2 separate regions of the Homo sapiens genome follow, and region 2 is linked to region 1. The links are contacts of gene promoters, found by promoter capture Hi-C in human tissues and cell types (Jung and others, 2019). All regions are on one chromosome and are shown on one strand. Each heading gives the region's core, a stretch centred on a gene start or on the middle of the fragment in contact. The rest is flanking DNA. Distances are from core to core; before and after follow the strand shown.

Region 1 (5,122 bases), core at 10-2,509:
CTGTTCGTGCCTTCCCTCCCTCCTCCTCCCCCCGATATTTTCGCTTTCTAAAACCATAAAAAAGAGATCAACTTCCCAAACTTCACAGGGCCCTTTTCAGTGACAAATATTGATGCCCAAAGTGTCTGCGCTCTCCCGCCCCCAAACGTTAAGAAAAGACGCCAGCGAAAGGGAGACATAAAAAGTTAACAATGCTGTGAAAATATGTTTGCAGAAAATAGACAATCGTTGGATTAAACGTATTCAAGTATGAAATAATGCCTTTTTGTGTCAAAACTTGGGCGATGGGCGGGTACAAAAGTTCCCTGTGGCAGCTACTTGCTCCCTTTGTGAGCCGTGCGCTTTGGCGTCTCCACTTGGGCGCATTACTCAGAGCCCTCTAAGCGCGATTGTTTCTCCCTTTCTAATGACATTTACCGGATCAAAACATGCTGTTAATTCGATCAGAAGGCTTCACCCTCCCTGACAAAGCCACAATAATTTCTCCTGAAGTTTGTTAAATTGACCAAAATTAGGCAAATGAATAGGGGTCTGTAGGCGCCCCCTCTCGCAGGTGACGTTGCATAATGCTTGCCTGGGCCAGCTGCATTCCCCCTTTTCTTCTCGGCCCACTCTTCTCCGTGTTGCCCCCCAATCCTCCCACCCGCCCCTTCACACACAAACACACACACACGCCCGCCAGTCTCTCCTCCCCCACCCTCTGGCATTATTAAAATTTAGCCCAATGAAACTATTCATACTTTTCAATGGACATTTTCGTATAGGATAATAGGCTACAAATTGAGCCTCTTCCCCCCGCGAAGAGGGAGCAGGAGGGGTGGGGAGAAAAGAAAGCCAGCGACGTGGTCAGGGAGTAGGGGGGAGCGTCGCGTGCCAAACAGCGGCGGGAGGGGCGAGGCGAGGCGAGGCGGGAGCCTCGTGTGCCAGCCGCAGCCCCACACCTGCCGGGATGTCCGGACAAATAAAGCGGTGTAAACAAAAAGGGGGGAGAAGGACGTGTCACCAAGTCGTGTGAGAAAAGCCTGGGAACAAACGGGGCGCCTCCGTCTCCAAGAGCTCTCCCTTGAACCCGGCGGAACAGCCTATTAAAGGCTTACTTAATTACTTTAATGACTCTGGACAGGCTTTAAAACGCACTCGGCGCTGGGACGGCGGGCTTGCTGGGATTTGTAAACAGGCGATCATGTGAGACTCAGCGGTGGGACTAAAAGAGGCGACACTGTTTTGTGAGGGTCCTCGCCCCCCGGTGCCCGCGGCCGCTGCGCCCCTGCGCTCCGCGCCCGCGACTGCTGCAGGCGCTTGCTCGCCCGCCGGCCCCAGTTTACCGCCTCCTTTTCCCGCCCGAGCTGTTGCCATGCAAATGTTATTCCTGGGCCGATCACGTGTCCTTTGAAGGGCCACGTGGATTAACAAAGCTGATCTGCCCCCAGCTCGCCCCCCTCGGCTGCTAATTTTTTTTTTTTCTTAACTTCTTTAAAACTGATCTTGAATGCATACATCCTCCAAACGCAGCTCCCCTAATCCTATGGAATAATTCAACTCGTGAATGCATCTGGAGCCCTAGATGACCGCTTTATAAGGCAGCCCTCGGAGTTGGGAGGCTGCAGTCTACCTGGGACACTCGAGGAGGCACACGAGGCGGAAAAGTGGACGGGTGCCCCGCGCCACCGCCTCTCCCGAGGGCGCGTACTGACCAGGATGTCAGACAAGCTCAAGGAACGCAAAGTGAGTCGGCTGAGCCCAAATGGCACTTGCGCCCTGGTGGTGGAGGCATCTGACTCACCGACCCGCCACTTGGGTGGACCGATGGCAGGGAAGTGCCCGCACGGGACTTTGAGTGTGGAGGAATCTCGAGTGGTTTGGGAAGGGGGTGGGGTAGAGAGAGGAGGGTGCTCAACCAGGTAGAAGTCCTGCCTGGAGGCTGGCGGCCACCTCCCCAAAGGCCTGGGTAGGGTGGCTGGAAGGGGAGCGCGCCAGCGCGGGCGTCAGAAGGCAGAGCTCACCTGGCCCGAGCGTGGCGGGCCAGGAGTCCCTTCCTAGAGCGAATCTGAGCAGTGTGCGCGGCTGGAGAGGCGGCTTGCACCCAGCTGCTAGAGCCGCGCCTTTGACGACTTCCCGGGCAAAGCCATCCTAAACATACAACCCTCTCTTCGCAGAGAACCCCCGTTTCTCATAAAGTGATAGAAAAGCGGAGGAGGGACAGGATCAACCGCTGCTTGAACGAGCTGGGCAAGACAGTGCCCATGGCCTTGGCGAAGCAGGTAACGTTGGCGACCCGGAGCCGGGTGCCAGGCGTTGGGAGGCCTCTGCGGCCACTCTGCGGAGACGCCCGAGCCCGCGGACACAGAGGACCTCACTTGCGGGCCCCTCCCAGGCGGGGGGCCTGAGCGCAGGGCGAACCTCAGGAGGCTCTGGCGCAGATCCGCAGCCGCGTCCGCTCGCTGGTCCTCTCCAGCGCCACAGTGCCCGACCAGCAGGCGCTGGGCCGCTGCGAGGGGCCCTTCCTCCTTTTGCAGAGTTCCGGGAAGCTGGAGAAGGCGGAGATCCTCGAGATGACCGTTCAGTACCTGAGAGCACTGCACTCCGCTGATTTTCCCCGGGGAAGGGAAAAAGGTGGGCACAGGTTAGGGAATGGGACGCCTGGGCCAGGCGCCTGCGCCACCCAGAGACCCTGGGGCTGGGAGGGGAGTGACTGAGTGTTCCCGAGAGCTCTACTAGAGCTCCACTCTCCAGGAGGGCAGGGGTCCTGCGAAGGCGCCTCTCCCTGCTCGGCGACAGCAAGGCGGCGAGGGAGAACTGGTTCCCAGGGAGGCTGGTTCCACCTCCTTCTCCCGGGTGGGGTGGGTGGGGTCAGGCTCTCAGGGAAAGAGGGCGTTTGCGCGTGCCTCGCCAGTCTCTAAGACTGCGCAGAGGAGAGGGCGGGCCTCAAATGGGAACTTTGGCCAGAAAATGTGGTGGGAGGTGCCCTGCACCCGCTTTGGGCTCGCGTGGGGAAGGGGCACTCAGGGTGTGTCCGTCCTACGGGCTTTCTCGTTCCTCCAGCAGAACTTCTAGCGGAGTTTGCCAACTACTTCCACTATGGCTACCACGAGTGCATGAAGAACCTGGTGCATTACCTCACCACGGTGGAGCGGATGGAGACCAAGGACACGAAGTACGCGCGCATCCTCGCCTTCTTGCAGTCCAAGGCCCGCCTGGGCGCGGAGCCCGCCTTTCCGCCGCTGGGTTCGCTCCCGGAGCCGGATTTCTCCTATCAGCTGCACCCTGCGGGGCCCGAATTCGCTGGTCACAGCCCGGGCGAGGCCGCTGTGTTCCCGCAGGGCTCTGGTGCCGGGCCTTTCCCCTGGCCGCCTGGCGCGGCCCGCAGCCCCGCGCTGCCCTACCTGCCCAGCGCGCCAGTGCCGCTCGCTAGCCCAGCGCAGCAGCACAGCCCCTTCCTGACACCGGTGCAGGGCCTGGACCGGCATTACCTCAACCTGATCGGCCACGCGCACCCCAACGCCCTTAACCTGCACACGCCCCAGCACCCCCCGGTGCTCTGACGCCCACTCGCCCGCCAGATTTCTCCTCGCTTTGGGCGCTTTTAGGAGAAATGCTGTATATATTGTACACATAATGTGTAAATATTGTACCCCAAAAATCTGGGCTGGGGGAGGCAAAGAGCGAATGAGTCTTCTGAAGGATCTCCCCCTGGTAATAAACGTTTTCTGATAAAGACCCAAAGAGAGGGATTTATGTATTACCTTCTGCTCATCCACACCCGTCCCCTCCGCGGTGCCCAGGGCGCAAGGCTGACAGGGTTCAAGGTAACAGCCCTCAGTAACTTGGTGAGGGGCCCGCTGTGGAGTCTGAGGGAGGGGGACGTTAAATGGAGGTTCAGGCAGATATTCTAGGCATCGCTTAAGGGCGGGATTCGCGGCTTCCTGCACCCGCCCCATCTTGAGCATTAGCCTCAGAGAAACAGGGGAGGCGAAGAACACTGCCCTTGGCTCTCAGGAAAATGCAAATTGAAGGACCTGCCCCAAACTGACTTAGGCGGACCGTTGCCAGCTGCGACCCGGGCGCCCGTCCTACCCGGAGCCAAGTGCCCGACGCGCGCGCACCGCACGCCCGCGGGTCTGGAATGCGGCGAAACCCGGGCCAGCGGGGCGCGTGGCTGAGTTTACAGAATTAAAAATCCTCTAAAAAATACCGGAACCAAGTACAGTTCTGAGTTGCGGATTAGAAACAACATCGTTGATGACAACTGCTCAGCGCCAGAGGCTTCCGAGAAGCTGGCGTTGCCTTTTGCGCACAGAGCAGGCCAGCTTCGGGGGCGCTGGGCGTCTCGGCGAGAGGTCGGCACCTGCCGGGTTGGGAGACGCCCCTTCCCCACCCCTTAGGGGATTGTTCCCTACACGCCATCCTTTACCATTCGGACACTGGTGCAGGATGGAGACCCTGGGGTCTCCGTTTAAGTTCTCAGGCTTGGAGAGAAAAGTCCTCCTTATCCTTTCCCCAGTGAGATTTTTTTTTTTATCTCGCCCCACCCAGAACGTGGTGAGGAAAGTTTGGAATCCAGGAGAGACTTGGCTATTGGTCTTTTAAGGGATTGTGATTTTCACTTCCAGGACATCTGTGCCCTACCCACAGCGATGCATCTACAACGGCAAAAGCTAAAATCCTGTTTCTGTAAGACTCAAAGGGCAAAATAGGGCTCCCCGTTGTTTCATGTAAATAGGTAAAATAAACAATGTATCCAACTGGCTAAGTTTGTGTTTGTAGGTATTTAAATTTTTCTTTGAACTTTTGTGCCTCATTAACTTTAATGCCTTTTAAATAAATAATTCGAAATTAGGTAGCACGTTTTCCTCTTTGTTTCCAGAGGCCATTTCGCTGAACTGTGGTGATTTGTCTTCTCTCAGATCGGCTGGAGGACTGTAAATTAACTTATTCTATTTTCTCTGGACAGGGTTTAAGAAAGCTCTGACCTAGACTGTTTGCTGAGGTCATGGAATGGGATGACCTGCAATTTGTAAACCATCAAACTTCATTATGCAGAGACAGGCAAAAAAAAAAAAAAAAAAAAAAAAAAAAAAGCCCTCATTACATTGCCCGTAAAGTGAAACTTACACGTATATGT
Region 2 (4,955 bases), core at 1,521-4,020, 280 kb before region 1:
GCAATTTTATAGATGATGATTCCGGGATTCAGAAAATTTAAGTGACTTATCAAGGGTCACATAGCCAGGTAACAGAAACCCAGCTACACACTAGACCACATAAACTTCTTAACCTAAACTCTTTGAGCTGTCTTGTCCTTTCTTGGGGGGGAAAAAAAGTCAAGGTTCCTCCTTGCCTTACGCTGGAGTCAAGGTGGGGCTTCTGAGAGACAGAAACCTCTGTGACAACCCACAGGTAAAATTTCTGGGCCAGGCGCGGTGGCTCATGCCTGTAATCTCAGCGCTTTGGGAACCCCAGGAGGGCGGATCACGAGGTGAGGAAATCAAGACCATCCTGGCCAACATGGTGAAACCCCGTCTTTACTAAAAATACAAAAATTAGCTGGACGTGGGGGCGAGCGCCTGTAATCCCAGCTCCTCTGGAGTCTGAGGCAGGAAAATCGCTTGAACCTGGGAGGCGGAGATTGCGCCACTGCACTCCAGCCTGGGCCACAGAGTGAGACTCCGTCTCAAAAAAAAAAAAAAAAAAAAATTCTGTTGTATGTGCGTAAGTGTGTTTTGGGAGGAGGCATGAACAGATTTCATGAGTCTCAAACCCAAAAATGTTAAAAGATAAAAATAAAAAAAGACAACAAAAACCACTAGCCTTTCAGATAAACTCTTTTCAGCTGACATTGAAGGCTGACATTCTCTTCTAATCCTTTTTTGCACTGGGGGAGTCTTCATTCTCCTCCACTGGCCACAGAAGTCTGGTCTCGGTTTCCCCACCCACCTGCGGTGTCCTGCTCCAGCTTTTCCACCCTAACCCCGCATCTACCAGCACCTCCTCCTCCAGGCAGCCTTCCCAGGCCCGGGGGAACTCCTGTTCTCTTCAGATCGTCTTGGCGTATGGCTTTGTGCACCGTCTGCAGCAAGCCGAGACCCTTCCCGCCAGATCCAGGCCGGGCCTTGGATGGCCATTCGCCAACGAATCAGCGACCAGCATTCTAGAGCGCGTTTTGCAACCGACCAAACGCTCGCTTTCTTTGGTAAACAAAAACCGCTCGAGCCATCCTGGAGAACCGCAAGCGGCAGCTCGGTCCCCCAGCCGGATTTATGCTCCAGTTTACGGTCTGTGGTTTGCAGTAAGAAAACACCAGGGTCTTCAAAATAAGAAAACTGATTCCCAGTCAGAGAATAAAACTCCACTAACAAAGTCTGGCAAACCGCAGGCAATACGTATTTGCTGAATATTTTGCTTTCAAGCTAGCACTTTGAGACTCACTACTTTGGACGGCACTCCCCCTCCCCACAAAACGACACGACACTGGCTGACGTCTCTCCCACCCGCCAGGCAGTGTTAGGCCCCGACAGGCCCGTGCAGGTGGGATCACTGTTATCCCCACTAGACTGAGGAGGAAGCCGGGGACCCGGGCGATTGGCCACTCGGGCGACCTCCACAGTGGAGCACCAACAGCGCCGGGAGGCGCAAACCACGGCAGGCGAGGAAGCAGTTCAAGCTGGTCTCCGGCCCCGCGCTCCCGAGGGTCGGCAGTACTTACCCCTCAGACCTGTGAGGCCGCGGCCGCCGCCGCCCCCGCGGGGCCATGGTGCCGCTCTCCGCTCTCGAGCGACTGGAAGCTCCCGCCAAGCCCCTCGCCGCTCCGAACAGCCAATCCGGGCCGAGCACGCGCGCGTGCGCAGGACTTCCTGAGCGGCCCCCGGGCTCCTCCCTGGCCTGGAGCGTGAGGGAAAACTGGGTCTGGTTATTACAGCGCAACGGAGCTGGAGTCCATGCCGCACAACCAGTTACCTACGGTCCAAAACATGCCAAAGTTTTCCGGGCTTTCGCGCCCACCCGCATCGCCAGTTTTCCGGCGCCAGAAAGCCCGGGAGCCACGTGGGACGGCCCCTTGTGGGGTGGGGAAAGGGGAGGAGCTAGTGTCCCTGAGTCGTGGGCAGGTAAGAGGGTGGGTGGAGACCCGTGTTCGCAGCTGTTGTCGCTGAGGCCGCAGTCGTCTTTCCAGGCCTACAGGATTTGGCTTCCAGCCCCTGCTGCCTTTATCAGCTGTCTGAGCTTAGCATGTTACTTTACCGCTATCCCAATACCTTCATTTGTAAATGGACAGGGTTCCTTTTGTTCTTTTATTTTGTTTGTGTTTAAAAATGTGTAATGCAGAAGAATGTAATTGAACCCTTACCTTACACCGCGTATAAAAATTAACGCAAAATGAATCAAAGACCTAACTATAAAGGCTAAAATTAAAACTCTTAGAAGAAAACAGAGCAAAAACTTCATAACATTGGACTTGGTATGATTTCTTGGATATGATACCAAAAGCAGTTTGGGATGATGAAAACGTTCTGGAAATAGTGGTGGATGGATGCACAAGGTGAAGGTACTTAATGCCACAATACTGTAAAGTTAAAAACGGTTAAAATGCTAAATTTTGTTATGTATATTTTACTACGACAAAAATATTACGTTTCATGCATATGAAAGAATATAACGTGTAATGTAAAGATAAAAACAAACATCCGTGTAACCAGCACTACATGGGGATATGGATCATTTTTATATATAACTCTTGGGTACCCCTCTGAATGGTATCCTCCTCCTCCAAAGAATAACCACTCTTCTGATTTTATGTGTATCATTCCTGTGGTTTTCTACCTTGATATAGCCCCAAATAATGTATTGATTATTGTATGTTTCTAAACTTTATATGATATTTGGTAGGTATGCTGCAAGTGCCCTTTCTTACTAAAGCTATTGCTTTTATTTTTTATTTATTTTATTTTTCCATAAATTATTGGGGTGCAGGTGCTATTTGGTTACATGAGTAAGTTCTTTTTTTTTTTTTTTTTTTTTTTTTGAGTTGGAGTTTTGCTCTGTCGACCAGGCTGGAGTGCAGTGGCCTGATTTTGGCTCACTGCAAGCTCTGCCTCCCGGGTTCATGCCATTCTCCTGCCTCAACCTCCGAAGTAGCTGGGACTACAGGGGCCCGCCACCACGCCCGGCTAATTTTTTTGTATTTTTAGTAGAGACGGGGTTTCACCGTGTTAGTCAGGAAGGTCTCGATCTCCTGACCTCGTGATCTGCCCACCTCAGCCTCCCAAAGTGCTGGGATGACAGGCGTGAGCCACGGCGCCCGGCCTATTTATATTTTTTATTTTAATTTCTTTTTTTTTTTTCAAGATGGAGTCTTGCTCTGTCACCCAGGCTGGAGTGCAATGGCACAATCTTGGTGGGGGGGACTATCTTTTCTGGAATTTTAGGATCCCTCCTCAGACAAGCAGGCCTAACAAAAGCTATTCCTGAAGGTATGCTATGAGGAGCCTCAGAAATTGTATCCTTCCTATTCATGTAAGTGAAGATAAAAGGTGTCACTCTTCCAGCCTTGGACATCCCTTCCCTCCCTCAGGGTATGGCCCTCCACTTCATTTTTGGGGCATAACATCTTTATAGGACAGGGATAAAGTCCCAATACTAACAGGAGAATGCTTAGGACCCTTAACAGTTTTTCGAGAATGTGTTGGTAAGGGCCACTAAATCCGACCTTCCTTGGTCCTCCATGTGGTCTGGGAGGAAAACTAGTGTTTCTGCTGCTGCGTCGGTGAGTGCAACTATTCCGATCAGCAGGGTCCAGGGACCATTGTGGGTTCTTGGGCAGGGGGACAAGCAAAACAAACCAAAACCGCGGGTGGTTTTGTCTTTCAGATGGGAAACACTCAGGCATCAACAGGCTCACCCTTGAAATGCATCCTAAGCCGTTGGCACCAATTTGACCCATAAACCCTGTAAAAGAGGTGGTCTGCCCTGCAGCTTGGCACCAATATTCTCTCTCTGATGGGGAAAAATGGCCACCTGAGGGAAGTACAAATTATAATAGTATCCTGCAGCTTGACCTTTTCTGTAAGAGGGAAGGCAAATGGAGTGAAATACCTTATGTCCGAGCTTTCTTTTCATTGAGGGAAAATACACAACTATGCAAAGCTTACAATTTACATCCCACAAGAGGACCTCTCAGCTTACTCCCATATCCTAGCCTCCCTATAGCTCCCCTTCCTATTAATGATAATCCTCTCTAATCTCCCCTATCCAGAAGGAAATAAGCAAAGAAATCTCCAAAGGACCACAAAAACCCCCAGGTTATCGGCTATGTCCCCTTCAAGCTGTAGGGGGAGGGGAATTTGGCCCAACCCGGGTACATGTCCCCTTCTCCTTCTCTGACTTAAAGCAGATCAAGGCAGACCTGGGGAAGTTTTCAGATGATCCTGATAGGTACACAGATGTCCTACAGGGTCTAGGGCAAACCTTCGACCTCGCTTGGAGAGATGTCATGCTACTGTTAGATCAAACCCTGGCCTTTAATGAAAAGAATGCGGCTTTAGCTGCAGCCTGAGAGTTTGGAGATACCTGGTATCTTAGTCAAGTAAATGATAGAATGACAGCCGAAGAAAGGGACAAATTCCCTACCAGTCAGCAAGCCATCCCCAGTATGGATCCCCACTGGGACCTTGACTCAGATCATGGGGACTGGAGTTGTAAACATCTGTTGACCTGTGTTTTAGAAGGACTAAGGAGAATTAGAAAAATGCCCATGAATTATTCAATGATGTCCACCATAACTCAGGGAAAGGAAGAAAATCCTTCCGCCTTCCTTGAGTGGCTATGGGAGGCCTTATGAAAATACACTCCCATGTCACCCGAATCACTCGAGGGTCAATTGATTCTAAAAGATAAGTTTATTACCCAATCAGTTGCAGATATCAGGAGAAAGCTCCAAAAGCAAGCCCTGGGCCCTGAACAAAATCTAGAGGCATTATTAAACCTGGAAACCTCGGTGTTCTATAATAGGGACCAAGAGGAACAGGCCCAAAAGGAAAAGCGAGATCAGAGAAAGGCTGCAGCCTTAGTCATGGCCCTCAGACAAACAAACCTTGGTGGTTCAGAGAGGACAGAAAATGGAGCA

Evidence for each region. Contacts are between HindIII fragments. The study calls those that stand out against the background at their distance.
Region 2: a contact is called between a fragment that was not itself captured here and the fragment with the promoter of HELT in region 1, in 1 of the 25 tissues and cell types used here (neural progenitor cells).

Annotation. Positions count from the first base shown.
Region 1 is chr4:185,017,231-185,022,352 of GRCh38, forward strand. It overlaps HELT (helt bHLH transcription factor), which reads left to right and starts at 1,260. Exons shown (of 4, transcript NM_001300781.2): 1 at 1,260-1,725; 2 at 2,157-2,261; 3 at 2,517-2,613; 4 at 3,043-3,723. The coding sequence starts at 1,699. The coding sequence ends at 3,542. RefSeq lists enhancers at 510-1,090, 1,091-1,669, 1,670-2,249, 2,964-3,891, 3,892-4,818. The HindIII fragment of the contact is 22,587 bases long and covers 1-5,122 here.
Region 2 is chr4:184,732,475-184,737,429 of GRCh38, forward strand. CENPU (centromere protein U) reads right to left here and starts at 1,622. Exons shown (of 13, transcript NM_024629.4): 1 at 1,542-1,622. The coding sequence starts at 1,588. RefSeq lists enhancers at 1,062-1,928, 1,079-1,198, 3,436-3,955 and a silencer at 1,569-1,628. The HindIII fragment of the contact is 8,312 bases long and covers 1-4,955 here.